4 separate regions of the Homo sapiens genome follow, and all the other regions are linked to region 1. Evidence: promoter capture Hi-C in human tissues and cell types (Jung and others, 2019). All regions are on one chromosome and are shown on one strand. Each heading gives the region's core, a stretch centred on a gene start or on the middle of the fragment in contact. The rest is flanking DNA. Distances are from core to core; before and after follow the strand shown.

What was found. The method cuts DNA at HindIII sites, captures the fragments that hold promoters and counts their contacts. A contact is called where the count stands out against the background at its distance.
Region 2: a contact is called between a fragment that was not itself captured here and the fragment with the promoter of VAC14 in region 1, in 1 of the 25 tissues and cell types used here (dorsolateral prefrontal cortex).
Region 3: a fragment that was not itself captured here is called in contact with the fragment with the promoter of VAC14 in region 1 in 1 of the 25 tissues and cell types used here (dorsolateral prefrontal cortex).
Region 4: a fragment that was not itself captured here is called in contact with the fragment with the promoter of VAC14 in region 1 in 1 of the 25 tissues and cell types used here (dorsolateral prefrontal cortex).

The regions. Positions count from the first base shown.
Region 1 is chr16:70,799,238-70,802,989 of GRCh38, reverse strand. It overlaps VAC14 (VAC14 component of PIKFYVE complex), which reads left to right and starts at 1,832. Exons shown (of 19, transcript NM_018052.5): 1 at 1,832-2,193. The coding sequence starts at 2,090. It overlaps HYDIN (HYDIN axonemal central pair apparatus protein), which reads left to right. Exons shown (of 86, transcript NM_001270974.2): 86 at 1-906. RefSeq lists enhancers at 1,797-1,856, 1,524-2,146 and a silencer at 1,937-2,126. The HindIII fragment of the contact is 10,557 bases long and covers 1-3,752 here.
Region 2 is chr16:71,568,206-71,571,957 of GRCh38, reverse strand. It overlaps TAT (tyrosine aminotransferase), which reads left to right. Exons shown (of 12, transcript NM_000353.3): 7 at 300-352; 8 at 1,127-1,279; 9 at 1,561-1,689; 10 at 2,021-2,104; 11 at 3,149-3,247; 12 at 3,674-3,752. The region is part of intron 2 of TAT-AS1 (TAT antisense RNA 1); the gene reads right to left. Among named protein-coding and RNA genes, the nearest start is that of TAT-AS1, 5.1 kb to the right of the region's middle. RefSeq lists an enhancer at 1-164. The HindIII fragment of the contact is 5,920 bases long and covers 1-3,752 here.
Region 3 is chr16:71,549,659-71,553,410 of GRCh38, reverse strand. No RefSeq gene overlaps it. Among named protein-coding and RNA genes, the nearest start is that of TAT-AS1, 13 kb to the left of the region's middle. The HindIII fragment of the contact is 3,015 bases long and covers 674-3,688 here.
Region 4 is chr16:71,467,290-71,471,041 of GRCh38, reverse strand. LOC124903709 (a long non-coding RNA gene) reads right to left here. Exons shown (of 2, transcript XR_007065105.1): 2 at 2,327-3,752. Among named protein-coding and RNA genes, the nearest start is that of ZNF23, 6.9 kb to the right of the region's middle. The HindIII fragment of the contact is 3,482 bases long and covers 1-3,462 here.

The sequences.
Region 1 (3,752 bases), core at 583-3,082:
ACATTTTTTCAGTGTTTTTCATCAACCATCATCAAAATCCTAAAACCAAACTTTGCAAGACATTTGGAGATGTCCTTGGCAGCACTACTACTACTTGTTAGCGCACCTACCTTCATTCATAGGATTGTGTCAGCAAAGGTTTTAACAACTATGAAAACCCCACCTGTATAGGAGAATACATTTTTTATGGATTTTTCTAGACATGATATATCCATGACTTGCCGAGTTTTGGATTAGCCTTTGTATTCATTTTCTATGGCTGCATAACAAATTACCACAAAACTAGGAGAGCAAAACAACACAAATTTATTATCTCACAGTTTCCATGGGTTGAGAGCCCAGTGTGAACTGGATTCTCAGCTCAGGGTTCCACAAGGCTGAAATCAAGGTGCTGGCCAGCTGCATCCTCATCAGGAGGCTCAACTAGGGAAAGATCTGCTTCCAAGGACCCTCAATGTGTTGGCAAAATTCATTCCTTTGTGGCCATATGACTAAACTCCTTACAGGAGAGTCTCTCTTCCAGTTCAAATTTCTTCTAATCTCTTTTAAGTACTCACTTGATTCGGTCAGGCCGACTCAAGTTAATCTCTCTTTTTATTAATTCAATGTCTGCTGATTAGGGACCTTAATTACATCTGCAAAATCTCTTCTGCGATATTACATAATATAATCATGTGAGTGATGCATAGCCCATCATATTTACAAGTCTTGTTCACGCTGAAAGAGGGCATAATACAGGGCATGAACACGAAGGGGTGGGAATATTGGAGGTCATCCTAGAATTCTGCCTACTTTTGCCCTTTACTCATTGCGTCCCTGTTTCTGTTGAGGAAAATACTCCATTTTCAAGACTGTTATAAGGCCTATATATGCACTTTTCATTCATTAAAGAAAAGTATCACCATGCATTCTGAAACTGTTATTCTTTGAGCTCCACTGTAATCTAGCCCTTGTCCTAAGTCCCTGTTCACTCTGAAAGCTTATGATAGGAAAGGCTGATGCACCTCCCTGTTAACTGCATGTTTACCACACTCCGGCCATAAATTGCTTTTAAATATTTTGCCACATAGTTGGGATTTCTGTCTCACCATGTAATGTGATTCCCGAAGCAGCTGAAGGGGCTGCTTTCCAGGGGACCTATCTAGAGACCCGCACTCAGCAGATCTGGGGCCTTTCTCTCTGTCTGTAACCAGCCCTCCTAGGCATCAGAGCATGTTAAACACACCCCCAAATGGTGGAGTGACAGACACTGGTGGTACCTGAGATCTTAGGTGGTAGACAGGTAGTGCCATTTTTAATTGAGAATTTATTTTGATGTGTCTTAGAAAAAATATACCTATTCAAACTCATGGTTTTAGGGCATAAGCAAAGCTAAAAGAGATTTAAGGTATTTTTTAAAGTGAGTTGATTTGAGGAAAACATTAAATAGATAATACAAGTGGCTAGAATATGGTGAAAGTGATGACAGTGTTACTGCAGTTAGGGAAACGTCTGCATCTAGGAAATTGGTAAGTGACCAACTACTGAATGAACTAGTGAATTCGGTGACTATTGAATAAATTATGTTAAGTGAATCAGACTCCAAGAACCCATTCGGTCTTACGAACGTCTACAGAAGCCCACCACGTGCCATCAGTTGGGCGTGAGCTACACACCCATTAAAGCACGTCTCAAACCACACTCCAGCTACCTGGCGCGCAGCGCGATAGTGTGTGCAGTGTGGGTGGAGCCTTCCGAGGGCGTGGCCAATCCACCTGCGGCCTGCGGTGGGGGCGTGGCTGGAGAGGGGCGGGCCCTCGCGACGGAAGGCGGAAGTGCTGTAGAGTCATGTGACTCGAGTAACATGGCCGCTGTCTCGTGAGTCCCGCTAGTGCCGGGCGGGAGTTGTTAAGCGGCCAGGGTCAGGTGTGCTGGAGCGGGGTCCGGGCCCGGGTTCCAGGGCGAGGCGGCGGAGCGTGGCAGGCAAGCCTAGAGCGGCGTGGTCCATGCGCCGGCGCCGGGGGCAGAGCGGAGCCGCAGACTCCCCTGGCCCCGGCGCGGCCCCGGCAGCCGCGGGCTAAGGAGTCGCGAGGTTCCCCCAGCTGCCACCATGAACCCCGAGAAGGATTTCGCGCCGCTCACGCCTAACATCGTGCGCGCCCTCAATGACAAGCTGTACGAAAAGCGGAAGGTGGCAGCGCTGGAGATCGAGAAGTAAGAGCCGCCAGGACCCCTCCCTGGCTATGCAGCCCCTGACTGCTCTGCTCCCCAGGGGGACTTCTCACGCCTTCCCAGCCAGGGTTACTTTCCCAGGTTTTAGGCCCTTACCTTAGCGCAGTGTTTAAGAGCAGATTGGGAGCCATATCTGGGAGTCCCTGCTTTACTCCTGACTGGCTGTGTGATTTGGTCCCAGCTTTTTAACCTCCCGGTGCCACAAAGGGCTGCAGTGAGAATGAAGTGACATCATGTATGGGTAGTGCTTTGCACAGTGCATGGCACATGGTGAGTCTTCGGTGCGGTGCCACCCAAACCAGCAAATCAGAGAGTTGTCTCTGTGGTGAGAGAGAAGTCAGAAGCCGGAGAATTTGCAGGTGATGCTGACCAGCCTGGTTTCTTACCCAGCTTCTGAGAAGTGAAGGAGATTGTTAGTGACCAAGTAGAGAAATCAGGTCGGAAAACTCGTGATCTCAAGGCTCAGAGAGTTTTTTGTTTTATCTGTGTTATAACACCCTTCCCTGCAAGTGGAAGTAGAAATAATTTGACCTTTCTTGCTTCTGCAGTCTTGTTACATGTATGTGTAACAATGATCTGATATTTTACTTTATTTCCCAATGTACAAAACAGCGAAAGTTTAACTGGGGATGTTTTATTTATTTTTTTTTCTGCAGTATTATTTTACTTTTGTGGGTTTTTTCCCAGTCACATTTTAGTGTTAAAGTCAAGTGAGTGAGTGATTTCAGAAAATTGGAAAGAAGCAGGCTGTGAAACTGGAAGAATACCAGTCTGCGAGTCAGAAAAGGTGAATTGTATTTCTGTTCTGTCCAGTAGAGTAGCCGTTGGCCGTGCGTAGCTATTATAAATTTAAATTATTAAAGATTAAACTTTAGTTTCTCAGTCACACTACCCGTATTTCAAGTGTTCAATAGCCACATGTAGCTATTGGCTGCTATATAGGGCAGCACAGATTATAGACTGTTTCCATCATTGCAGAATGCTCTATTGGACTGCTCTAATCTATTCCGTGGTGTGACATTCATTCGTTAACCTGGGGCAAATTCCTTAACTCAGGGTTTCTCAGCCTCTGCACCATTCACATTTTGGGGCAGATGATTTTTGGTTGTAGTGGGCTGTCCTGTGCCTTGCAGGATTTTTAACAGCGTCTCTGACCTCTTCCCACTGGATGCCAGTAGCACTCCATCCGTTGTAACAATCAAAAATGTCTTCAGACATTGCTAAATGTCCCCTGAAGGAGCAAAATTGCCCCGGTTGACAACTGCTGCTTGCAATCCAAATCAAATGTTGCTTTGGATTTTAGTTTCCTCCTAAACTAAAGGGTTCGGACCTTGATAAGAAATCCCCCACCCTGCCTCCATTCAGCTCTCATACTCAGTATGTCCACAACCATCTAGCTGCTTCTCTCATCAGACACCACTTTCTTGACTGCTCCTTTTATATAGCTTTTTGTTTATGCCTGACTCTCACGAATGCTAGCAAGTCTTATTGCACATTGCCATACTGAATAGAGGGACCCAGAAATGATATATAGGCATGGT
Region 2 (3,752 bases), core at 1,253-3,752, 770 kb before region 1:
ACTTGCCTCTTCATCACTCCCATCACGTTGAAGATAGGGTCTGAAATATCTAGTTACTTAAATGGTGAATTCAGGCTCTGCACTCTGGAAGAGTATGTTAAGAATTTACAGTTCTTAAATAGGAAGACAAAACACACAAACATGAAATGCAAATCACACTTTGCTTGTGCTTTTTGTCTTTCTCTTTAAGAATTGTAACTTCTTAATATTACGGGATAGGGAAATTACATGATATTATGTGACTATTACATGATAAAGCAATTCACATTAAAACTGATTTCAGCATGTTTTATTTTCAGTGGCTGCACGGCAGTGTGTCCCCATCTTAGCTGATGAGATCTATGGAGACATGGTGAGTCTTGATCAGGATATATCACTACAGTAATCTCAAATTATTTTATGGGAACTTTAGAAGTGGAATAATCAGAAACAACTCCTAATCGTTTCATTACAGCAAATCAGCATCCCTGCACTTTTTACAAATATATAGACCCACAACTCCTTAGCCAGTTTTCTGAAACCCAAAGAACTTTGGAAATCCAAAGATTCCTGGAATTCATTTGGTTACAAAACCTGATTTGACCTGATATTTGTAGATTTTTATTTTTCCCACTTGTGGATCTATATATTTGTTAAGAGTGTGGGGAAAATGGCAGAAATGTTAATATTCTTGATTAGGGGTACTATCCTAGACAGCTCTGGGAGTGTTACATAACGTATGGTAAGTGTGCTACATGGCCTTTCTGAAGCCCAAACCATTTTGCATTATGAAAATACCTGGCCCCAGGAATTTCAGATAAGGGATTGTGGACTTATATTTTAAATCTGTAACTCCTATAGACAGTAATTTCATAGAGCCAGCTTCATGGAGTTGTAAATATTACTGGGCTAGGGTCAGTTTCCTCATTTTAGGCTTCCTTTAATCCAGTCCAGACACCAAATTAAATGTCTTTGTGTAGTCCCCTTCAAAGCCTCTTGCAATCCCAGTCATGCTTCAGGGTAGGGATGATCCCATTAATCCAAGGACCTGTCCCTAGTGATAGAAGGAAATGGGTGGGAGCCACGGGATCTGGGATTGCAGTGAGAAGTAGACAAGAAAACAACCATAACAAGTGCCTCTTCTCAGGTGTTTTCGGATTGCAAATATGAACCACTGGCCACCCTCAGCACCGATGTCCCCATCCTGTCCTGTGGAGGGCTGGCCAAGCGCTGGCTGGTTCCTGGCTGGAGGTTGGGCTGGATCCTCATTCATGACCGAAGAGACATTTTTGGCAATGAGGTGATAATATGGTGAAAGAGTATGTGTAATTTAGGGTATATATTTATTTCATGAGCACAGTGGGGACAAGGGAGGCTTTTTTCTTTTCTTTCTCCTTGTCAGTCAAGCAGCATGTGTGTGGCAGAGCTGGGCTACGAACCCAGAGGGTCTGATCTAAGAATGCCACTAGACACCATCACTTTCCAAGATTAAAAACCTGATAGAAAGGTCAGAACAAGAAACTCTAAGACAGAGATGCTTAAGAAAAGCTAAACAACATGTTTCTTGTGGGTGTCTTTTAGATCCGAGATGGGCTGGTGAAGCTGAGTCAGCGCATTTTGGGACCCTGTACCATTGTCCAGGGAGCTCTGAAAAGCATCCTATGTCGCACCCCGGGAGAGTTTTACCACAACACTCTGAGCTTCCTCAAGGTAAGGGCAGCTCCTGCCCTCCACTTTGGGAGTTTGGGAGTCAGAGAATGCCGCCCGTGGAATTAGGAATAATTGGTTCTCCTTTCTGGAGCCATGTTCCAATATTAGGAGACGGCATCGGTGTAAGCATCCACACACACGTTTCTCACTTCCGGCCATTCTCTCTGCCCCTGGTGAAAAGCTTCAAGTAATAGAGCTTTTTCTTTTTCACTCCTTATGCCAGAACATCACACCTACGTTCCCACTCTTCAATGAGGGGGCTATTTTTAATGACTTGGCTTTTCTTTTACTTAAATTTTGATCCTTGATTTCTCCTTGCCTCTTCTTGTAGTCCAATGCTGATCTCTGTTATGGGGCGTTGGCTGCCATCCCTGGACTCCGGCCAGTCCGCCCTTCTGGGGCTATGTACCTCATGGTGAGTATGTGGGTGGCAGGCACTAGGTCAATGCATGTTGTAAGGCAAAGGGCAGTCATTCAGCAGAATTGCCACAGGCAGTCACGCAGGGTACAAAGACAACCAGCTGGCCTCCTAAGCCAAGCAGTTTAGGAGTTGTCTTATTCTGAATTGTCCCACTGAGGTAATTTAGCCTCTATCAGTTCTCATAAAACTCTTTAAATGACTTAATTAGGCAGGGCATGGTGGCTCACGCCTGCAATGCCAGCACTTTGGGAGGCCAAGGTGGACGGATCACTTGAGCGCAGGAGTTAGAGACCAGCCTGGGCAACATGGTGAAACTCTATTGTCTCTACAAGAAATAAAAAAAATGAGCTGGGCGTGGTGGCACACTCCTGTAGTCCTAGCTCCTTGGGAGGCTGAGATGGAAGAATGACTTGAGCCTTGGAGGTTGAGGCTGTAGTGAGCCATAATCGTGCCACTGTACTCCCGTCTGGGAGACAGAGTGAGACCCCATCCGAAAAGAAAAAAAAAAAAGATTTAATTTTTCAGTACAGAGAATCATTTTATATATGTAGATACAGGGAAGATTTAAAACACAAATAAGAGGCTTTTCATACCATTGTAATTCTCAACTGGGAGTGATACTGGTTCCCTAAGGGTATCTGGGAATGTATGGGAATTTTGTTTGTTTTCAGAATGACTAGGGGCTGCCATTTTGTGGGTCAGGGATGTTAAATATCCTGCAAGGGGTGGGCTAGTCTCATGCCATAAAGAGTTGCCTGGCCCTAATGCCAGTAGTGTCTCTTTTGAGACATACTAGCATTCTATTTCCAGCTTTTATTTATCAGCATCAGGGAAGGAACTCTTTAATATTTATTAATAAAAATATATCCTGTCTTCCCTGAGAAAAATTCCATAAATATTAGCCCTCTTATTTATCAGTGATCAGTAGCACAGTTCCAAGATATCTTTTAAAGTAGCCCCTACCTTAATTTCTGGCACAGGAAATTGGCCTGTTCTCCCTCCTTCTGATAAGTTGGCCTCTCCCTCCTGTTGGTATAGGTTGGAATTGAGATGGAACATTTCCCAGAATTTGAGAACGATGTGGAGTTCACGGAGCGGTTAGTTGCTGAGCAGTCTGTCCACTGCCTCCCAGCAACGGTGGGTGCCTGTGTCCCTCAGGACATTCTCAACAGTTTCTAGAGCCCCAGAAGCAAGTTCTGAGCTGGTTTTTAGCCTGATCTTTTCTCCTCCAACAAAATGTCTTCTCATTTGATAAGATTCAAACTGATGTGTCTCATGGATCCTATTTAAAATTTGCTTCTCCCCCCCATCATAATCCCATCCATACTGGGAAGAAAAGTTGTAAACAAACGTTCTAGGTGAGAGGAAATTGATCCTGTCCCACAAGTCATTTTAAGATGAATGAACTCAGTTGCTGACTTAGCATCCCAGTCATGGGAGCTGAATGAACTGATGGCCCTGATGAAATGGTACCACTTCTTGTGGATCAGGGTCCTGACCATTTTAGGGTGGTCCAGTACCAGACTCAATTGCTCTGAAAGTAACAGACTCTTCTTTTTGCAGTGCTTTGAGTACCCGAATTTCATCCGAGTGGTCATCACAGTCCCCGAGGTGATGATGCTGGAGGCGTGCAGCCGGATCC
Region 3 (3,752 bases), core at 932-3,431, 750 kb before region 1:
ATTAGGGTGTACTTTGTTTTCTAGCCTTGGGGAACATGGGGACAGAAGCCCAAGGGAAGAGCAGCTTGTCCAAGAAGCAGTAGCAACAGACACGTGCCTGGAGGGAGTGTGATAGCATCTGCCACGTGGAGGAGAGCATGAGCCATTCTTCAGCACTAGAGAAGATGGCATTGCAGCCAGCAGGAATGTGGCATCATTCTGAAAGCAATGAGAATGACACTAATGCTGTCCCCAAGCTCACCACTTCCCTCTCAGGCCTTCACTCAACCCCTCTACTTCTTATTTCCAGTGTTTCTGCATTAACTACCACCTTCTTTTTAAGAACCAATGAATCCCAGAGGTTCCCATGGGCCAAATTCTCCCTTTCCAACACCATCTTAACCGTGCTTCAGTAAACATAAGTTGTCAACTCTCAAATGTGTGTCTCTAGTCTAGACTTCCCTTCTGAACTTTAGACTTGCACATCCAACTGCCTTCTCCCATCTGCACTTAGAGGTCGCTAAAGTTCCACCAATTCATCATTTCCACGCTCCCTCCAGGCACCTGTCTGTTGGCCACTGCTTCTTGGGCAACAAGATTCCTTAGGACTTTCTACACATAAGATTATGTCATCGGAAAATAGAGATAATTTTACTTGTTTCTTTCCAATCTGGGTGCCTTTTATTTCTTGCCCAATTTCCCTGGATAGAATCTCCAGTATGATATTGACTACAAAGGTGAGAGTAGACATCCTTGTCTTATTTTTGATCTTGGGGGAAAAACATTCATTCTTTCATCATTAAGTATGATGTTAGCTGTGGGTTTTTAATAGATGCTCTTTATCAGTTTGAGGAAGTTCTATTGTTGATTTTTAAATCATGAAAGGTTGCTAGATTTTGTCAACTGTCTTTCTGCATCTATTGAGATGGGTCAAGTGGTTTTTATCCTTTATTCTATTAACATAGTGTATTGTGTTAATTGATTTTACAATGTAAAACCAACCTTACATTTCTGGACAATTCCCAGTTGAAAATGGTGTATAATTCTTTTTACATGTTACTGGATTCCATTGACTAGTATTTTGTTGCTTTTACATCCATAGTCATAAGATATATTGGTATGTAGTTTTTTGTGTGATATGTTTGTCTGGTTTTTCTATCAGGGTAACATTGGCTTCTAGAATGAATTGGGAAATGTGTACTATTTTTCTGTATTTTGGAAGAGTTTGAGAGGATTCATAGAAATTCTTTAAATGTTTGTTAGAATTCACCAGCAAAGTCGCTTGGGCTATTCTTTATGAGAGCTTTTTTTTTTTATTAGACGGAGTCTCACTCTGTCACCAGGCTAGAGTGCAGTAGCGTGATCTCGGCTCACTGCAACCTCTGTCTCCCGGGTTCAAGCAATTCTCCTGCCTCAGCCTCCCAAGTAGCTGGGACTACAGCCGCGCACCACCACACCGAGCTAATTTTTGTATTTTTAGTAGAGACAGGGCTTCACCATGTTGGCCAGGATGGTCTCGATCTGTTGACCTAGTGATCTGCCCGCCTCGGCCACCCAAAGTGCTGGGATTACAGGCGAGAAATTTTAAATTACTAATTTAATCTCTTTACTTGTTATAGGTGTTTTCGGATTTTCTATTTCTTCTTGAGTTAGTTTTGGTAGTTTGTATCTTTCTAGGAATGTGTCCATTTCATCTAAGTTATCTAACTGGTTGTTTTTAGTATTCCCTGATAATTCTTTTTTATTTTTGTAAGGTCAGTAATAATGTCCCTCTTTCATTTCTGATTTTAGTAATTAGTCTGTTTTCTTTTGTTGGTCAGTCTAGCTAAAACTGTCTATTTTGTTGATCTTTTCAAAGAACCAAATTTGGTTACACTGATTTTTTTCTCTCTCCCACTTCTCACTCTCTATTTCCTTTATTTCTGCTCTAATTTTTATTGTTTCTCTCTCTTGCTCTCTCTCTCTCTTTTTTTTTTTTTTTTTGAGATAGGGTCTTGTTCTGTTGCCCAGGCTGGAGTGCAGTGGTGCAATCATGGCTCACTGCATCCTCGACCTCCCAGGCTCAAGTGATCCTCCCACTTCAGCCTCCTGAGTAGCTGGGACTGCAGGTGCACACCACCATCGCTGCTAATTTAAATTTTTTTTTTTTTTTTTTTTTAGAGATGGGGTCTCACTATGTTGCCCAGGCTGGTCTCAAACTCCTGGGCTCAGGTGATCCTCCTGCTTTAGTCTTCCAAGGTGCTGAGATTATAGGCATGAGCCACCATGCCTGGCCTATTGTTTCTTTCTTTCTTCTTGCTCTGGGTTGAGTTTGATTTTCTTTTCTTCTGTTTTCAAGGTGGAAGTTTAGTTATTGATTTGAGATTTTTCTTCCTTTTTTAACATTGATATTTACAGCTAAATATTTCCCTTTAAGCACTATTTTAGCTCTATCCCATAAGTTTTGGTATGTTATATCTTCATTTTCATTCATTCTTTTAAAAATATTTTCTATCTCTTTATTGATAATATTTGTTGGATGAGACATTGTCAACATACCTTCCTTTAATTCTTTAAGCATGGTGTCGTTTAGTTCTTTGAACATATTTATAACAGGGGCTTTGAAGTCTTTGTTAAGTCCAACATCTGGGCTCCTCAAAGGCATGTTCTATTGCCTGATTTTCCCCCTTTTTGTTTTTGGGTCACACTTTTCTATGTCTTTGCAAATCTCATAATTTTTGTTGAAAATTATGCATTTCAGATAAATTTTATAGATTCTGAATATTAATCACCCTCTCATCTGGGGCCCGTTATTTGCTTTTTTTTTTATTTCTTTAGTGACTTGGCTGGAACAGATTATTGAAATCCATTTCCCTCATAGTGTAATGTTGCTCCTTAGAGAGTGAAGCCTTGGCCATGCACATAGTCCCTCTGATGAGCTGAGATTACTGGAGTTTTAGCAGGGTTCTCTTTAATTATATTTTCTCTGGTCCCCTGTTAAGCTTCTTTCTGGTCTGACTTTCTCGGTAACATATCCAGCTGTTAGCTACCAATAACTGCTAGCTGGTTGCTCTATTTTTTTTTTGTAACAATGTCTGGGGCATAAATTGCTCCATCACCTGATTCAGCTAGTCAGGTCCCTTTGCTGGGGCGGTCTTTGAGGCTTGCTTCGAGCCCAGGAGGGCTCTGCTTAGCTGTCTCTTTCCCTGGTTCTCTGTTAAACTTCTAGCTGGTCTACCATTTTATTTGTTGCTAGTAGTTTAATGGAGCTAAGAGACTCCTCCTAATTGTTTACCACCAAAATCTCCAGTTTTTGACAGCACACTTAGGCATGAACTTCCTCACATTTTCCTCTAAGTACAGTAAGTCCTTTTATTTTATTTTATTTTATTTTATTCTATTTTATTTTATTTTAGACAATGTCTTGCTCTGTTGCTCAGGCTGGAGTGCAGTGGCACGACCTTGGTTCACTGCAACCTCTGTCTCCCGGTTTCAAGCGATTCTCTTGGATCAGCCTCCCGAGTAGCTGGGATTACAGGTGTGTGCCACCATGCCTGGCTAATTTTGTATTTTTAGTGGAGATGGGATTTTGCCATGTTAGCCAGGCTGGTCTCGAACTCCTGACCTCAGGTGATCCACCCCCGCTGGCCTCCCAAAGTGCTGGGATTACAGGCATGAGCCACCGCACCCAGCTCAGTAAGTCCTTTTTGAAAGAGTCTCTGAGCTCTCTATTCTTATGGCCTTCTCTCCCCCTGGACAGAATCTCTGCCACTACATCAGAGTCGGGGGGACAA
Region 4 (3,752 bases), core at 472-2,971, 670 kb before region 1:
GAGGAATTCTTTACTCTTTCCTGGAGGTCCCAGTGCTCATAGCATCAACCTTTAGAACACTTCATATTGTCATTTCCTCCTATCCTGTCTCACTCCTTGGGTTCTTTTAGTACTGCTTCCTGGGATCATCTCCTGAATAAATGTGCGTTCGAGTCCTTGTCTCAAGCCCTGCCTTCAGGGAAACCCAAACTAATGAGAGGGAGACAGAACTTTCAGGCAATGAGAATGTGTCTTATATTCTAGTAGTGAATATTAGTAGTCTACTCAACTGAAATCCTTTAGATGTTAGAGGATGGCCCAGATGAGCATTTTTGTGATGAAATCCCATTCTGTTTTCAGTGGTGGCTGCACATTTCTTATTTCTACTTCAAAGAAGCTTCCTCTCAGAGCAACTATGCTGTGGGGCACAACGTTTTCGTGTGTCACTGAAGTGCCTAATTTTAGATAGACTAAGTTGTTTATATAACTGTAGCTATGTGTGGCCAGGAGGTAAAACATGGTAAATATCACGGTTATCAGCCTGTAAGGAGGACCTGGCAATGCATGTCCCTCAGATTATCAACTAAAACAAGCACTTGGAGCCATGCAAATAAAAGAATCCTTAGAAGTATGCCACATACAATAAATGATTTTATTAATTACTCAACTTTTTTTTTGACACAGGGTCTTGCTCTACCACCCAGGCTGGAGTGCAGTGGCACGATCATGGCTCACTGCAGACTTGCCCTCCCAGGCTCAAGTGATCCTCGTACCTCAGCCTCCCTAGTAGTTGGGACTACAGGCATGCGCCACCACACCCAGTTTATATATATATATAAATTTTTTTTTTGAGATGGAGTCTCGCTCTGTTGCCCAGGCTGGAGTGCAGTGGCATGATCTCGGCTCACTGCAACCTCTGCCTCGTGGGTTCAAGCGACTCTTCTGCCTTAGCCTCCTGAGTAGCTGGGACTACAGGCAAGCGCCACCACGCCTGGCTAATTTTTGTATTTTTAGTAGAGATGGGGTTTCACCATATTGGCCAGGCTGGTCTCGAACTCCTGACCTTGTGATCTGCCCACCTCAGCCTCTCAAAGTACTGGGATTACAGGTGTGAGCCATTGTGCCCATCAATTTATGTATATTTTGTAGAGACAAGGTTTCACTATGTTGCCCAGGCTGGTCTAGAACTCCTGAGGCCAAGCAATCCTCCCACCTTGGTCTCCCAAAGTGCCGGAATCACAGACATGGGTCACTGTGCCTGGCAATAAATATTTATTTAGTGACTTCTGTGTGCTAAGCAACATGCTAGATGATAGCACATGATGACAGAACATGTTACTGATGAGCAACATGGAGCTTCTCTCCAGTTCCTGGTGCTACTGCCTTGTTCTGAGCCACCAACATTTCTTTCCTAGACTACCACAATTGCTCCTTAAGTAGTCTCCCCACTTCTGCTCTTGAATCCTTCTAATCTATCTGCCAGTCAGCAGCCAGGTGTGCTTTTAAAAATATGGAACATAACATGCTTTTCTTAAAACATTTCAATGGGTTTCCATTGACCTTGGAATAAAATCCAAACTCTTTAACATGGCCTGCAAAGCTCTAATGACTTCATGGCGCAGCACTTCCTCCCTCCTCTCTCCCCATGATGTGTCAAGCTTTTTTTTTTTTTTTTTTTCCACTGAAGGGCCTACACATGCTATTCCTCCTGCCTGGAATGCTGTCTCCTTGATTATGTGCCCAGATAGTTCATTCTTATCTTTCAGGTCTCAGCCCAAGATCAAGATCACTTCCTCAGGCCTTTCCTTACCTCCAAGTTAAAATGGTATTCCCTTGATATTATCTCCTAAACACCTTGCTCTTTACCTCCCTCACACGAATGAAAGTTTACAATAATATATTTATCCAGGTGTGGATTTACTTAAAAGTTGTGTCCCCCACTACAGTCTATGTTCTACAAAGACTGTAACATGTAAGCTTTGTTTTTCTTCATCTATAAAATAGATATAATACCTACTGGATCTTCTTCAGTATGGATGTGAAGAAAGCATTACATAATAAACATAAATGTGTCTAATAGTTAATGAAGTGCAATTCAGATTAAAGATGTCTTTGGGCCAGGCATCATGGCACATGTCTATAATCCTAGCACTTTGGGAGACTAAAATGGTTGGATCCCTTGAGGCCAGGAGTTCCAAACCAGCCAACGCAGCATAGCGAGACCCCATCTCTACAAAAAAGAGAAAAGAAAGAAAAATGTTTTCATGGCTCAGAACACCTGAATGCAAGGTAACTCACCAGGAAAGGAGTGTAAGTTAGTTGAATAAAGCAATTGGAACACACGAAGTTTCAGGTTTTATTACATTTTTATTATGTTCAAATAGTGTTGAGGTAATTTATTGTTAACAACAAGAACAATACATAGCTTCCTTGTCTTTTAAATCTTTCAAATACAAATAATTCATGTTAACAAAAATTTATATGATGTAAGAAAGCTTCCCAGAAGAGCCTCTCTTAGCCATTTGGGCCCACAATAAATTATCATCCTTGGAATCTCTGGATTTTGAGGCAGAGTGATAGAGAAGACAAGTAGGAACTGGGGCACTGGGTGATACGTGTCAGGTTCTGACCAAATGAATTCAAAGAAAGGAATAGGGTGAGATTAAGTATTTGGATATCAGGCTTAAAATATAGCCAGAGGGAGGCTGGGCATGGTGGCTAATGCCTGTAATCTCAGCACTTTGGGAGGCCAAGGCAGGTGGATCACCTGAGGTCAGGAGTTCGAGACCAGCCTGGTCGATATGGTGAAACCCCATCTCTACTAAATATACAAAAATCAGCCAGGTGTAGTGGTGGGCGCCTGTAATCCCAGTTACTCGGGAGGCTGAGGCCAGAGAATCGCTTGAACCCGGGAGGTGGAGGTTGCAGTGAACTGAGATCGTGCCACTGCACTCCAGACTGGGTGACAAGAGTGAGACTCCTCAAAAACACACACACATATATAGTCAGAGGGGACCAACACACCAGGTTGGAGGACAATGGTTCTGAGGCCAGCCCCAGAACCTTGGAGAGCGCCACAGACACACCCCCCCCCCCCCCCCCACTGAGTCGGAGCTAGCACCTTGGACAGCACCACGGCTTCTCTGTTTTCTACTGCTGTCCTTTGTACCTGGATGACACTAAACACAGGTTGTAGTGGTCACTGTTAATTTCTTGGGGCTTTCCACTCCGGTGTACCTGGCAATTGTAATCCTCTAAAATCAGCAGTCTTTTACAAGGTTCTTTATGACACGGTGGGGGTTGAGATTCTTTCTCTTCCTTCTAGAAACTTCAGCATCAGAGCTGATAATTGGACCGATTCCCTTGGGAGGTCTATGGGATTGGTACCTAGTATCATTGTGTTATGCCAGAGGCCAACGTCCTTCAAGTTAGGGGAAAATGTGTAATACCTGGTCATACTATGTAAGGAAGAATGCTCAGGGCTCTTCCTAGGCACATATAAGCAAATTATCAGGCAATACATGTGAGAAAGAAGGTATGTTGTATTCATTTGGAGACAGGCTGCTTGATTCTTTTTCATGCCCTCTCCTCACGTGCTAACCCCCACCTGTTAACCTATTTTCAGAAACATACAATGGATTGGATCTGCTTTCTCTGTGGTAAAAATCTTCCGAACTTGATTGTTGTTAGCATGTTTCTGTGAGGTTATGCACAAAAAACTTTGAAGGAGTTTGGCACTGTAGGTCTTTCTCCTACTTATAATATGTCATATT